2 separate regions of the Homo sapiens genome follow, and region 2 is linked to region 1. Evidence: promoter capture Hi-C in 16 types of primary human blood cells and fetal thymus (Javierre and others, 2016). All regions are on one chromosome and are shown on one strand. The core of a region is centred on a gene start or on the middle of the fragment in contact, and the rest is flanking DNA. Distances in the headings are between cores, read along the strand shown.

What was found. Contacts are between HindIII fragments. The CHiCAGO score rates a contact against its expected background, and 5 or more counts as called.
Region 2: a contact is called between the fragment with the promoter of MANSC1 here and the fragment with the promoter of PRH1-TAS2R14 in region 1, in 3 of 17 cell types (non-activated CD4 T cells, total CD4 T cells and monocytes). The highest score is 6.8, in non-activated CD4 T cells.

Annotation. Positions count from the first base shown.
Region 1 is chr12:11,167,125-11,174,596 of GRCh38, reverse strand. PRH1-TAS2R14 (PRH1-TAS2R14 readthrough) reads left to right here and starts at 2,986. Exons shown (of 5, transcript NM_001316893.2): 1 at 2,986-3,175. SMIM10L1 (small integral membrane protein 10 like 1) reads right to left here and starts at 3,403. Exons shown (of 1, transcript NM_001271592.2): 1 at 1-3,403. The coding sequence starts at 3,240. The coding sequence ends at 3,034. PRH1-PRR4 (PRH1-PRR4 readthrough) reads left to right here and starts at 2,972. Exons shown (of 10, transcript NR_037918.2): 1 at 2,972-3,175. It also overlaps a transcript of PRH1 not described here. The HindIII fragment of the contact is 883 bases long and covers 2,483-3,365 here.
Region 2 is chr12:12,345,305-12,352,776 of GRCh38, reverse strand. It overlaps MANSC1 (MANSC domain containing 1), which reads left to right and starts at 2,535. Exons shown (of 4, transcript NM_018050.4): 1 at 2,535-2,699. RefSeq lists a silencer at 2,225-2,534. The HindIII fragment of the contact is 5,175 bases long and covers 1-3,429 here.

The DNA of each region.
Region 1 (7,472 bases), core at 1,737-4,236:
CCCATTTTTTTTTTTGCCAGCTACATTTCTTATCTCTATTGATAATAACTATACCACCTATGTCTCTGCTTTTTCATGCTTGAGGGATCTCTGGATCAATCAACGTGCATGATGGCCTGAAAAAGCCCAATTTATGGGCAATAAAGTGAATCATCTTATTATCAGGAACGAATATATGTTTCCTTTATTGACTGCTGACTATGTAGAGCATACCAACAAAATTGCCATTCATCTATCCATTCAACAATATTTATTAGCTATTCCGCACTGGGCAGTGCTCTAGGCTTGGGGATAGAACAGTGAACAAACAAAATCCTTAGCCTAATGGATATTACCTGGAAGTGTGCCAGGAAGAATAAACTCACTTGTGAATTACAACAATAAGTGGTTTATTCAGGTCAAAATCTTGTTTTGTCTCCTGGGAATTTCACTGAATTGCATCATGTAGGAGGCAAACTATACCCCAAGAATTAAGAGCAATTGTGAATAAATGATAAACCACAGAGTTTACATTTACCTCCTAATACATTTAACTCCTAATATATATATATACATATATTACGAGGTAAATGTAAGCTGTAACTTTATGCATATATTGTAAGTAGTAACTATACATATATACTTATATACTGTATACATATATAGTAAGTAGTAACTATACATATATACATATATAGTTACTACTTAAATTTATATATGTGTATGTATATATATATGTATATATACAGTACACACACATACTGTTACTACCGGGTGTAAAATTGAATAGGATATAGTGTCTTCCCTCACAGAGCTGCCAATTATGTTGGAGGATGTAATAAATACAAAGTCTGTTTCTTCATCTTCGGTTTAACAAATGACTGATGTGAGGAAAAAAGTTATAGGAATATGTTCACATAGTCACCCAAATGGAGCATCCTACTCTGTCACCATTTCAGGATTAAGACTAGACAGTCTTTTGTGTTACAAATTGGGACATCAGTGCTCTGGGAAACAGTGATGTCCACGATTCTAAATCCCTTGGTATTACTATTTCATTGATTAAACTACACTTCTGATATTTTAGACTAAAATGTTTTGGCTTATCGCAGTCTAGGAAACCTGTCTTGGGTATATAAAACAGACAGTTGATGCACGATTAGGGAAAAATAAGGCAACCTATGAAAATGGCCTTATGGATTAAAAGAAGTGAGCTCCTATATGGTCAGTGGAATCCAGGAAAAATTTAATGGAAAAAGCGCCACCTAAGCTTAGCTTTAAAACACAGAGTATCTTCAGGTAGAAAAGGCTATAGGAGAATGTGCCCAAATGGAGTTTGGCTGGAGACAAAGAATAAAGACTAGAAAGAACAATTACCCTAGGCCAGACATGGTGTTGGACGGGGCAAGATGCTTACTACTTAAAGCCATAGAACACTGTTTGCTGGACACAATGAGTGGAATATAGAACAATGCAACTATTTTAACACTTTACCCCTCTTAGTGGTTTATTAGTTAATTTTTTCCTGAAAAAAAAAATGCGTATACTACTTTTTCTGCACTTTTCTATATCAGATCTTGATTTAAAACTTTACCACTCTTGGTGATTTATTATTAGTTTTTTTAATCCGAAGAAAACATGTGTATACTCCTTTTTCTGCATTTTTCTATATCAGATCTTGATTGGCTCACCACCATTACACACACACACATCTCTTTTCTCCCATCCTCCCAGCGTTATAGAATCATTTGTTGTAAAATCAGTATTCAGTATTTACATAATTATGACTGACTTTACATGACTACTATTATTCACAGTTGAGGTATACCGTGTATACAGTGTAGTTTTTAAATTTTTATTTTTCTCAGCGTTCAAAATTATATGTTCTGTTTTCTTAATTTTGAAAAATATGCATTCACTAATTTATCCCCACACTCTTTGGAAAATGAAAGCTCTCTAGGCTGTATTCAAATACACCAGGTACTCTATCAATTTTCATTTTTTAAACTATTCTACCTGAGCTCTCCATCTTTAGCCATTTCCTGTTGACTTCATACTGTTCTCCCCTACCACTCTCCCTCTTTAATATATTACCGTTTTAGAAACTTTATGGCTACCCTGTAAGTAATAAAAATGTCTTTCCCCACTCAACAACAGACAGTACCTTTCAAGTTTCCACTTTATAAGGACATAACCCCCATTCCATTTACTTCCCCCGCCCTCCTTCAACATTCCCACTTGTATTTTCCGGCTGTATTTTTAAAACATGGTAAATAACATTTGCACTCCACTTTGTAACCATAATTAAGTATGCCCTTAAACAATAAAAACCATAAACAACATTTGTATTTTACGATTATTTAAATGTTATTCACTGAACAGCCAAGCTTTGTGCTACTATGGGATTTCGTTTTCTGCGGTTCCAAGTCTTGATCCACGTCCTGCCACAGGATCACTGAAGTAGAGCCCATTTTCTTACACTCTCGCCATTAGTTCAAAAGCTTGCAGCATTTTATGTCTGGTACTTGGAGGATGATTTTCCTGTACAGTTTTGCGTTTTTTTCACCGAAAATTTCTGATTATTATTGTTTTCTCTTGTGGGATGAAATATGTACCTTCTATATCACAGCCTTAATACCTTCAGCTTCTTATTCATTGAAATCTTGCTTACAATCCAGTCCGAGGATTCCCGGTTTACTGATTTTCTTTTTCCTGCAAATTTTAGCCTTCTGTTTTGTTTTGAAATAATGCATCCTCTGCGCTTTGTCACATTCTGAAATTCGTCAGGTGTTTTAGGATGCACACTTTCTTAGATGTTTTCGAGGGTCTTAACTGCAGTTCTGTTTCCGGAACAGCGTATTCTCTTTCTAGGGATTGTAGGCTCCCGGCCGCCCCCTGAGGAGCTCCGCTAGCAGCTAAGAGGGCAGCCACGAAGAGCGCCTGAGCACTCTCGCGAGACTGTGGGGCTCGCCATTGGCTGCTCCGCCGCGCCGCAACGGACCCTGGGAGTCGGCCATCATGCTGGCCCCGGAGGCCGTTAGCTTAGTCATGGCTCTAAATATGTACCTGCAATCGGATGTTGAGGATCACCGAGCCCGCGACGTAGAAGTACGGGAAGTTCATGCGCAGCTGCCAGGCCAGCTCGAAGAAGGCGAGCAGGGTGCGGGAGAGCCCCTTGCAGAAGACGCCGTACGAGGTGGGTGTCGCGGCGGGGCTTGAGGCCCTGACGGCCAAGGAGGACGGAGCCGCCGCGGGGGCCATGAGCCAGGTGTCGCCGCCCGCCCAGCGTCTGTAGCGAGGGTTGCCGCAGGGCCCGCGGACCTCCTAGCGACGGCTGGGACCGGCAGGACGGTAAGCAAAGCGGCTCCCGGGCTCACACCCAAGCTTGCCGCTGCCGCCGCTCGGTGCAGTGCGGCGCGTAGCCCCGGGCGCCGCTGGCGCTCCGCCCCTTCCTGTCTGCTTCTCACTGTGGCATTTACCATTTAGAGCTCAACTGATGGTAGGTGGCTCTGGAATAGGATGTGTTATATAGCATGTACGAACATCCATGCAGATAGTTCCACTTTAAAATGAAAAAATCTAAGCGAGATGTAACTTGCCGTAGGGCACAAAATTTGTAAGGGCCAAAGCTAGATTAAAACTTTAGTTTGTCTGCTGTGTTATGTGGGATGTTAGGAATCTTACCCTTTTGATTTCATAATATTAATATTAGGGCAAGATGATTCCTACGCCAATAAAAGCACAAGGTCTCTGTATTCATAATATACCATAGACATAAAAAGGATCACAATCTTAGTCTTTGGATTTTTCTATTTATTAGGAATATTTAAATTGCAAGTGACAGGAATGATAAACATTCAAGCAAAAAACTAGTGGACACACACGCGTATATACATAAGGACATACATACAAAATTATATTCCCAGCCATGTAAACCCTTAAAAAGTTCAGATTAGCTGTGGAAGCTTCAGCCATTTCTGCATGGAGATGCATCTGTGAAACCTGTGGCTAGGCTCCAAGAGCTGGAATACTACTCTGTACTTCCAAACTCTTTTTTTGTTGTTGTTTTTGAGACGGGAGTCTCGCTCTGTCGCCCAGGCTGGAGTGCAGTGGCGCGATCTCGGCTCACTGCAAGCTCCGCCTCCCGGGTTCACGCCATTCTCCTGCCTCAGCCTCCTGAGTAGCTGGGACTACAGGCGCCCGCCACCATGCCCGGCTAATTTTTTGTATTTTTTGGTAGAGATGGGGTTTCACCGTGTTAGCCAGGATGGTCTCGATCTCCTGACCTCGTGATCTGCCCGCCTCAGCCTCCCAAAGTGCTGGGATTACAGGCGTGAGCCACAGCGCCCGGCCTGTACTTCCAAACTCTTAATACCATTAGAGTAACAGCACAGTGAATCTCTAATAGCCACAATACTTTTGTTATTTAAATGGTGCACATTTCATTACCTTCACTTATCTCCCATTTTAACTAGAAAGCACTGTATTTTTTAATCGCACACACCGTCTTCATTCATGGATTATTCAAATGTGTGATTTCTGATCATGACCTTAAGGTTACAGTCTTGTTCTGAAAAGCATTGTTGAGATACCACACATCGCACCGTGCACTGCATGTCTAGCAGCTATTCAGAGCACAAGTACGGTACCCTAGAGTACCTCTGTTTCTATATAGTCTACTGATTATATGACTGGTAGAAATAACGTGCCACTGATAAATTTGTAAAAATTAATTTTGTGTTCCCAGCTAGTATTCTTTTGCTACTTTGCTGCTCCAGTACCACTCCAGCGAGGTAGCACTTAGAGGAATTACTTATGACAACTTCTAAAATACTGGTATAGAGACTGAAGAGCGATGTAAAATAAATGATCAATTCTGAGAACTGGGAGAAGATATATAGTTTCAGTTCACACATATAATTTACTCCCTTTGAAAACTGAAAGACTAATACACAGAGCCATTCAGAGTCACAGGAGTCATTACGTCCTGGATTTTTCATTTCCAAATATGTAAAGCTATGTGGACTCATTCTGTCTTCTATTCCTCTTTTGTGCCACCCTTTACGCCCTACTTGCTCCGTTTCTGGGTAACTCCATGAAAACCTTATCTTCCACCCTGAGACCGTGGGGAAAATAGCAGCCACCCACTGATAACATGGCCAGATTGAGGGCCTATTCCAATGGGACGGGAATAGGCAAAGAACAGTCACAAAGCTCCAAATCCTACTCCTTAATGCTCTAGAGCTGAAGAAAGATTTCCTTCTTTCCACCTGAGAGTGGGATAGGAGCAATAATTTAGGTGGTTGTAGTTTTTATCTGCCCCTTGATGTTTAGATTTGAATGCCTAATCCACACTTCTTTTGCTGAGGGTGATATTAGGAGAATTCATGATTAGAGTATTCATGATTGGAAATGGCTTGATTGTACAAATTAGAAAATTCATGATTGGAAATGGCTTGATTGTACAGATTAACTGCATTGACTGGCTTGGGCATTGGAAGCTTCCTTTAACTGACTTTTCATCAGGTTAGCCAGCTCCAGAATTTAACAGCTGTGTTTAATACTGCTTAATATTTTTATACTTATGTTCACACCACACCATTAACTTGTGCTAATGCCAAACTAGAAAAAAAGTACGTTTCCTTTTGGACACTGATCAGTACTCAACCCTTTGGTTTGCTATCTGCCTGATAATTTTTGGAGGTGGGGGTGGTTCACAATAGCTAATTTTTCTCAGCCATTTTTCCTTTGGATAAAGTGTAGAATTAATTATGTGAATATTATGATTCTGATGGAGTCCTTGGTTTATTAACATTCCATTGGGAAATAAATGATTTTGGAGTCGTAATCTTTCTTATTTTCTTTTTATCATGTACTGTTTTTCAGCTTTTATAGCAGATTTGATTCACTTTATGGTAAACAGCCTGCTGGGCATGATGCTTTTCCAGATAGTAGGAGCCTTCTGCCTTTCTGATCACTCTGATTCTGATTCTTGGGAAGAGCAAGCTGAGTCAGACCTCACTGATAATGCTGTGGAAGATTAGATTCTTGATATGATGGGAAACCTTGGCTCCTTGAAAGCCTTGACGAAAACTTTTTTGTATTAGGAAAAAATAAAATCAAGTAGAAGCCCACATAAAAACTCTTTAATTTTTCTTTTCTCTTTCTTTCTTTCTTTTTTCTTTTCTTTTCTTTTCCTTTCTTTCTTTCTTTCTTTCTTTCTTTCTTTCTTTCTTTCTTTCTTTCTTTTCTTTCTTTTCTTTCCTTTCTTTCCCTTCCTTCCTTCCTTCCTTCCTTCCTTCCTTCCTTCCTTCCTTCTTTCTTTCTTTCTTTCTTTCTTTCTTTCTTTCTTTCTTTCTTTCTTTCTTTCTTTCTTTCTTTCTTTCTTTCTTTCTTTCTTTCTTCTTTCTTTCTTTCGTTTTTTGCCATGGCTTTAATATGTACATATAGTTTGACATCATTGTAATTCTTACCAGAACATACTCAGAGCTAAATATATACTCTTATTTCCATATTTCAAGAAAGACTTTTCTTTTTCTCCCCTCAAACCTCTCTTTTAGACAATGAAACACATTTAATAATTGTCAGATTATTAAGATCTATTGTATTCTTCATTACAAGGCCAGATTTCATAGGTGCATAAAAAATCACCTATACATGAATCTATTTTTTAATTGAGACATTTTTTAAACCATGCATGTGGAAGAATATGATATAGCATGCATTTATGCATGCATTTTGAAAACCAGCTTGAGAATTTTACTTCCTTTTAGTTAGCAGTAGACCAAAAGAGAATGTTGCTTCTGCTCTAACAAAGAGAGTAAACTAGGTAGGCTACAAAGTCATAATTTATTTTGAGCTTGTTAGAACTGAAGTTACAAGGTGAGCAGGTAAACTGAATTTTAGCACTTTGGGAGGCTGAGGTGGGTGGATCCCGAGGTCAGGAGATCTGGGCCATCCTGGCTAACATGGTGAAACCCCGTCTCTCTACTAAAAATACAAAAAATTAGCTGGGTGTGGTGGCAGGCGCCTGTAGTCCCACCTACTCGGGAGGCTGAGGCAGGAGAATGGTGTGAACCCAGGAGGTGGAGCTTGCAGTGAGCCGAGATGGGGCCACTGCACTCCAGCCTGGGTGACAGAGCGAGACTCCATATCAAAAAAAAAAAAAAAAATTACAAGCCTTTCCAAATAGGAGACATGAATTGTTTCATCTGTGGCAGAACTCCAGAAGAGTTCTCTGGCATTTCAGTAGGTAACAAGAAAATGGCTGAAATTTTAACAAATTCTTACAAAGGTTGAGTGTAGTTTAATGTGACAGTTTAGAATACCTGGGAGCCCCAGACACAGGAGTGGTCTGTAATTGCCAGCTTTTCCCCTTGGGCTTCTACCGAATGCTTACTGGAAAGGTTGAGGACAGACAGGAAACCTAGGAAAGTTCCTTTATGGTACACGGTATAGGAGGCAGAATAATGGCTTTCCCAAAGATGTCTATG
Region 2 (7,472 bases), core at 1,286-3,785, 1.2 Mb before region 1:
TTTCTCCACATAGATGGGACTTCTAACCCTCAGAGAAGAGTGTCAAGAATCTCTTCAGGAAATGAAGTGACAATGGATATAATTTCTAAGTTATGACTCAGGCCAGAAATTAAAGTTTTTATTTTATTTTTAAGTAAGCCAAGTGCAGTGGCTCACACCTGTAATCCCAGCACTTTGGGAGGCCAAAGCAGGAGGATTGCTTGAGCCCAGGAGTTTGAGACTAGCCTGGGCAATGTAGCAAGACCTCATCTATACAAATAATTTAAAACACCGGGTACGGTGGGTCACGCCTATAATCCCAGCACTTTGGGAGGCCAAGGTGGGCAGATCACTTGATGTCAGGAGTTCAAGACCAGCCTGACCAACATGGTGAAACCCCGACTCTACTAAAAATACAAAAATTAGCTGGGCATGGTGGCATGAGCCTGTAATCTCAGCTACTCAGGAGACTGAAGCAGGAGAATTGCTTGAACCTGGGAGGCAGAAGTTGCAGTGAGCTGAGATCGTGCCACTGCACTCCAGCCTGGGCAACAGAGCGAGACTCCATCTCAAAATTAAAAAAAAAAAAAAAATTAAGAACATTAGCTGGGTGTGGTGTGCGTTTGTGGTCCCAGCTACTCAAGAGACTGAGGCAAAAGAATCACTTGAGCCCAGGTGGTCAAAGCTGCAGTGAGTCGTGATTGTGCCATTGCACTCCAGTGTGGGCAACAGAGCGAGACCCTGTCTAAAAAAATGAATAAATAAACAATGATATTTATAAATTAAACATATATAATAGAAAATATTTCTTTAATCATTATTTTAATCAATATCCTTTGTTCACTGTCATAACTGAAAAAATAACATATCACTTCAATGAAAACAGGTTCAGGCCGGGCACAGTGGCTCACGCCTGTAATCCTAGCACTTTGGGACGCCGAGGCGGGCGGATTGCCTGAGCTCAGGAGTTCGAGACCAGCCTGGGCAACACGGTGAAACCCCATCTCTACTAAAATAGAAAAAAATTAGCTGGGCGTGGCGGCATGTGCCTGTAGTCCCAGCTACTCAGGAGTCTGAGGCAAAAGAATTGCTATAACCCGGGAGGTGGAGGTTGCAGTGAGCCGAGATCACACCACTGCACTCCAGCCTGGGCAACACAGCGAGACTCCGTCTCTAAAAACAAACAAAACACAAAACAAAACAAAAAAAGAAACAGGTTCATTGTATTAAAGCACCGAATACGAAGTTTCTAATAATGGAAAGGTCTACTTTGTAACTAGCATGGATTACCCCATGTAGAGAGATTCAAAAACTGTGATAGCTCTACACCCTGAACCCTGAAGTGTATCAGATGATAAAAGATAAAACACACTTGCAGATCAGTCCCTTGTTGCATCAGGAAAATCACTGCAATGGGAAATTACTCTGGTGTTTACTTTTCTTTGGTAACTCTTTCAAACCTAGCTTTAGCAACATTGTAATTCAAGAGTCATCCTTTGGTTACAAGTAGAGTTAGTTTCACACAATGGACCTTTGTTCACAAGCATTCTCAGTCAACCTAATCCTCCTGTAGTTATTGGTTAAGACTAGGGTGTGTAGCTGTTGGCCGTACAGGCCTAGACTTAACTTGCAATTGCATAGCGCTTCAGGTCTGCAAGCTCTTTCAAAACAGAGGTGAAGATACTGTCAAAGGTTAGACCATATGGCAAACTAAGTGTCAATGGTTTAGTAACGTTGCATTTGTGTGTGTGTTTATGGAGGTGGGGATGGGGCCAGCAGTAATTTAGAAACTTCCACAACCTATGCCCTATGCAGTTCTTTTCCATTCATTCAGTCAACAAAAATATTTTAGTTAAATATTTACTGAGCACCTATTGTGTACCAGGCACTATGCTAAGTGTTAGGGATACAGTTTTAATATATGTTACAGACACCAGCATTTTCACCATTATTATCCTATCTACAAACAATAAATCCCGCAGAAAGCCAAATACCTTCCCTGAAGTTTGTCTTGCAGATAATATTTAACTCAAGAATTGCCATCTTTAATTGAGGACTCCATCCTCCAATTATGGAAAGAGGATTCTCAGAACTATGCCCCCAATAGGATGCACTATAAGCCCTTGAACATCAAAAAACTGCTCTCAGTGGTTGCCTCTGAGGAGGGAGACTAGGAGACTGGGGCACGGGGGTGAGGGGTAGACTTGTCTCTGTGTCTATTTTTGTACTGTTTGACATTTTCCCCATGTGCATTTATTTTAACTTGCGCGGGCCGCGAGGCAAGGCTCACCTGCAGACCCTCGGGCCACCAGCAGGGAGGCACGCACTCCCCCTCGCAGCGCGCCCAGCCCGGGGTCAGCGGTGTGGCTGAGCTGGGGGGGAGCGCGGGGCGGTGGGGGGAGCCACCTCCCTGCGGGGCTCAGCGCTGGGGCCGGGAGCCCGGAGCCTCCGCGGGGAGGGACGCGCTAATGTTGCCGGGAAGCAGCTCCGGGTTGCAGGGCAGGAACGTGCCCTTCCCCCGCGGCAAACTTGCCGTCGCTGCGACGGAAGCAGGAACTTGCTAACCACAAAACCCGCCAGGCCGGTGCGGGAGCTGCGGAGCATCCGCTGCGGTCCTCGCCGAGACCCCCGCGCGGATTCGCCGGTCCTTCCCGCGGGCGCGACAGAGCTGTCCTCGCACCTGGATGGCAGCAGGGGCGCCGGGGTCCTCTCGACGCCAGGTAAAGGGGTCTCCCCAATACCCACCCCCGACCGGCCGCAGGCGACGTCGCTACCTGCGGAGAGAGTCGGTCCCCTCCTTTCCAGGGGCCGAGGCTCCTTCACCCACACCCGAGCATCCAAAGGACCAGCTGGGGCCAATAAGGGCTGACCAGGATCCTTGAGTCGCTGCAGTATTCCAAAGGGGACCTCTAGGCGGGCTCAAGGCACCTGCCATAAATGGCTCTGGCTCTGCGTTGACATCAGAAGGAGAGGCAGAAGAATAGCTCAGTAGGCAACATGCATTTCCTCAAAGGAAGAGAAAATGTTCCCTGTTTTCTTGTCGTTGACTCTGTATTCATTATTGAAACTGCTAATTGTCTAATTCTCTGTAGAGTGTGTGTGTGTATACAGTTATAAGCATCTTGGTAAATTATAGTGTGCTGTAAGACGATTTCCAATATTTGAACTAATTACGTGCGAGTAAGTTTTAGCGACTCTTGTATGCAGACGTTAAAACTCAGGGGCATCCTCTCTCACCCGCCTGTATCCTTTTACCCCGTCTTTCAACAAGATTCAACTCGACTTCAGGCCCTTAAAGCCTAAATAATAATGGATTAGAAAACGTCGCTAACCTAATATTGCTGAGCCTCTTTAATGATATAAAACTCTTAAACACTTCTCTCAATGCTGCATACTGAAAACAACTCCTGCCCCATCTCCTTACATAGTTCAGGTTTCTTTGCAAAAGCTTGAAAAGAGGCTACATTAGAATCCATTCAAAATAAAGTATTGGCCTGGTTTTCTCTTGATTCCCTAGAGGCTTGCAAAATATGGCAGCGTATTAAGTACCTTGGCCAGAATTATTAACCTGGGGAGTCCACGATAAGGTATCCATGGATAGAATTCAGGATGTCTGTGAACTTGAGTGGAAAAAATTATTATTTCACCGACTTCTGAAATGGAATGTAGGCAAAAGCCACAGTAGTATTAGCAGTAGCTATGATTTGCCCCCTGTAAATATTGCCGATATCTTTATATCACATGACTTGTTGCACGTTTCAAAATATTATCTATACTCAATACCACGTCAAAATTATGGCAGTTATTAGATGACCACTTGTTACTTAATAGGTTAATAAAGAAGCACATATTATGTCCCACAACTTTTTGTAAGTTTTAACTAAAATGAGGATAATAATGGGATCTGTAAAGATTAAATGACATGATATATATAAAGTGCTTAGCATAGAAACTGGCATTTTAGACGCAATAAATGTTACTATTTTACTGTATACAGAATTTTGACAAACAGCAAGAAAAGTATTAGACTTGTGTTTTATTACCATATACTGGTTTGTTTCTGGGTTTTTTTTTTTTTTTGGTTTTACCTTTTTTTAAAACTAAAAGTCCATAGTTCACATAATGTTCACTCTGTGTGTTTTACATTTCTATGGGTTTTGACAGATGTTCAATAACATGTATCCTCCATTACAGTGTTATACAGAATAGTCTCAATGCCCCAAATATCCCTTGCACTCCACCGATTCATCCTCCCACTCCTGTTCTCCTGGTGACCACTGGCCTTCTTACTGCCGCTGTAGTTTGCCTTTTTTAGAACGTCATACAGTTAGATTCATATCTGTTCAGACTGGCTTCTTTGACTTAGGAATATGCAGTTAAGATTCCTCCATGTCTTTTTGTGGCTTGATAGTTCATTTATTTTTATTACTGAGTAATATTCCAATGTATGGATGTATCTCATTTTGTTTATTCATCTATTGATGGGCATCTTGGTTGCTTTTAGTTTTTGGCAATTATGAATAAAGCTACTACAAATATTCTATTGCAGATTTTTGTGTGGACATAAGTTTTCAATTCATTTGAGTGAATACATAGGAGGACAATTGCTGAATTGTATGGTAAGGCTGCATTTAGCTTGGTAAGAAACTGCCAAACTTCTCCCAAAGTGGCTGTACCATTTTGCATTCCCCAACAGCAATGAATGAGAATTTTTCCTTTTTTTTTTTTCTTTTTTGAGATAGGGTCTCACTCTGTTGCCCAGGCTGGAGTGCAGTGGCATGATCTCGGCTCACTGCAACCTCCACGTCCCGGGTTCAAGCGATTCTTCTGCCTCAGCCTCCCAAGTAGCTGGGATTACAGGCACCTGCCACCATATCTGGCTAATTTTTGTATTTTTTTTTAGTAGAGATGGGGTTTCACCATGTTGGTCAGGCTGATCTCAAACTCCTGACCTCAAGTGATCTGCCCACCTTGGCCTCCCAAAGTGCTGGGATTACAGATGTGAGCCACCGCGCCCAGGCGAGAATTTCTGTTGCTCCATGTCCTTGTATTTGGTATTGTCCATTTTTTGGATTTTAGCCATTCTCATAGGTGGGTAGTGGTATCTTGTTTGAATTTGCAATCCCCTAATGACATATGATGTTAGATACCTTTTCATATGCTTATTTGTCATCTGTATATCTTCTTTGATAAGGTGTCTGCTCAGATCTTCTGTCCATTGAGTTTCTTTTCTTATTGCTGACTTGAGTTCTTTGTATATTTTGGATACCAGTCCTTTATCACAGGGTTCCCCAACCCCTGGGCCGCAGACCAGTACCTATTAGGAAATGGGCCACACAGCAGGAGGTGAGCAGTGGGCCAGAGAGCAAAGCTTCCTCTGTATTTACATTATGCATTACTGCCTGAGCTCCACCTCCTGTCAGATCAGTGGTGGCCGTAGATTCTCATCGGCGCACGAACCCTGTTGTGAACTGCACATGTGAGGGATCTAGGCTGCACACTCCTTATGAGAATCTAATGCCTGATGATCTGTCACTGTCTCCCATCACCCCCAGATGGTACTGTCTAGTTGCAGGAAGACAAGCTCAGGGCTCCCACTGATTCTACATTATGTTGAGTTGTATAATTATGTCGTTATATATTATAATGTAATAATAGAAATAAAGTGCACAATAAATACAATGCACTTGAATCATCCTGAACCATACCCCCACAACGCCGTCCATGGAAAAATTGTCTTCCATGAAACTGGTCCCTGGTGCGAGAAAGGCTATGGACTGCTGCTTTATCAGATGTGTGTTTCACAAATATTTCCTCCAAAAAAAAAAAAACCACCTCAAATATTTCCTCCAAGTCTGTGGTTTATCTTTTCATTCTCTTTAACGGTATCTTTTGTAGAGCAGAAGTTTTTAAATTTAATGAAGTCCAACATCAAATTTTTCTTTCATGGAGTGTGCTTTTGGTATTGTATTTAAAAACTCATCACCTAATCTAAGGTCACAAGGATTTTCTTCTGTTATTTTCTAGAAATTTTATGGTTTTATATTTTACATTTAGGTCTGTGATCCATTTAGAGCTAAATTTTGTGAAAGGTGTAAAGTATGTGGCTAGATTTATTTATTTATTCATTTTTGCAAATGGATATCCAGTTGTTCCAGTACCATTTTTGGAAAAGACTGTCCTTTCTCCATTGAATCCCCTTTGCTCCTTTGTCAAAGATCAGTTGACTCTCTTTGTGAGGGTCTATTTCTGGGTTTACTATTCCATTCCATTGATCTGTTTGTCTATTCTTTTTCTAATACCATACTTTTTTGATTATTGTAGCTTTACGGTAAGTGTTGAAGTCAGGTAGTATCAGTCTTCCAACTTTGTTCTTTAGTATTCTGGACTGTTCTTGGTCTTTTCTGCATTTCCATGTAAATTTTAAAATCAGTTGGTTGATATCCAAAAAATAACTTTGGGCTTTTGATTAAGACTGTATTTAATCTGTAGCTCAAGTTGGGAAGCACTGATACCTTTTTTTTTTTGAGACGGAGTCTCGCTCTGTCGCCCAGGCTGCAGTGCAGTGGCGCAATCTCGGCTTGCTGCAAGCTCCGCCTGGGGTTCATGCCATTCTCCTGCCTCAGCCTCCCGAGTAGCTGGGACTACAGGCGGCCGCCACCACGCCCAGCTAACTTTTTGTATTTTTAGTAGAGACGGGGTTTCACCGTGTTAGCCAGGATGGTTGTGATCTCCTGACCTCATGATCTGCCTGCCTCGGCCTCCCAAAGTGCTGGGATTACAGGCTTGAGCCATGGCGCCTGGCCAGGAAGCACTGATATGTTAACAAAATAAAGTCTTCCTATCCATGAACATGTTATATCTCTCTATTTATTAGCTCCTCTTTGATTTCTTTCACCAGGATTTTGTAGGGACATTCTAAAATCTATTTTGGTAATTATATTTCACTATAACTGGCTTCCTTTGGAATCCTACATATTCCATTTTATGCATTTTTAAATATGTCTCACAAAAGAGATCCTGAGCTTCCTCAGACTATCAAAGGGGTTAATAAACAAAGGTTAAAGAAGTAGTAATTCTGCTCTAAGCTATCATTCAGCAAACAATTTGTATTCAACAAAATGTTTAATGAAATGTTAAAAGGAAATGTGGAGGTTGATAGGTGAGGATAATTTCTTGTATTGTCTTGCCAGTTTAACATTTATTTTTCCTAAAAGAACCAGCATCTCAATAGAGTTGGCATTATACATAGTGTGACTTTTGTATTTTTAAGGCTGTCAAAAAGAAAACCTGCCCCTAAACTTTCCTTTAACTGAGGCAGCGTATTCCTCCTGCTGACTGGCTAATTTCTAGAATTAGATTATTAGAGTTTTCTAACTCTGATTTGATACTTCTTAAGGAGAAGCAGCAATAGGAAAGACTATCTCAGTTTCTTCATTATAAAATGAGGAAAATAATAGCTTTTTTTTTTTTTTTTGAGACGGAGTTTTGCT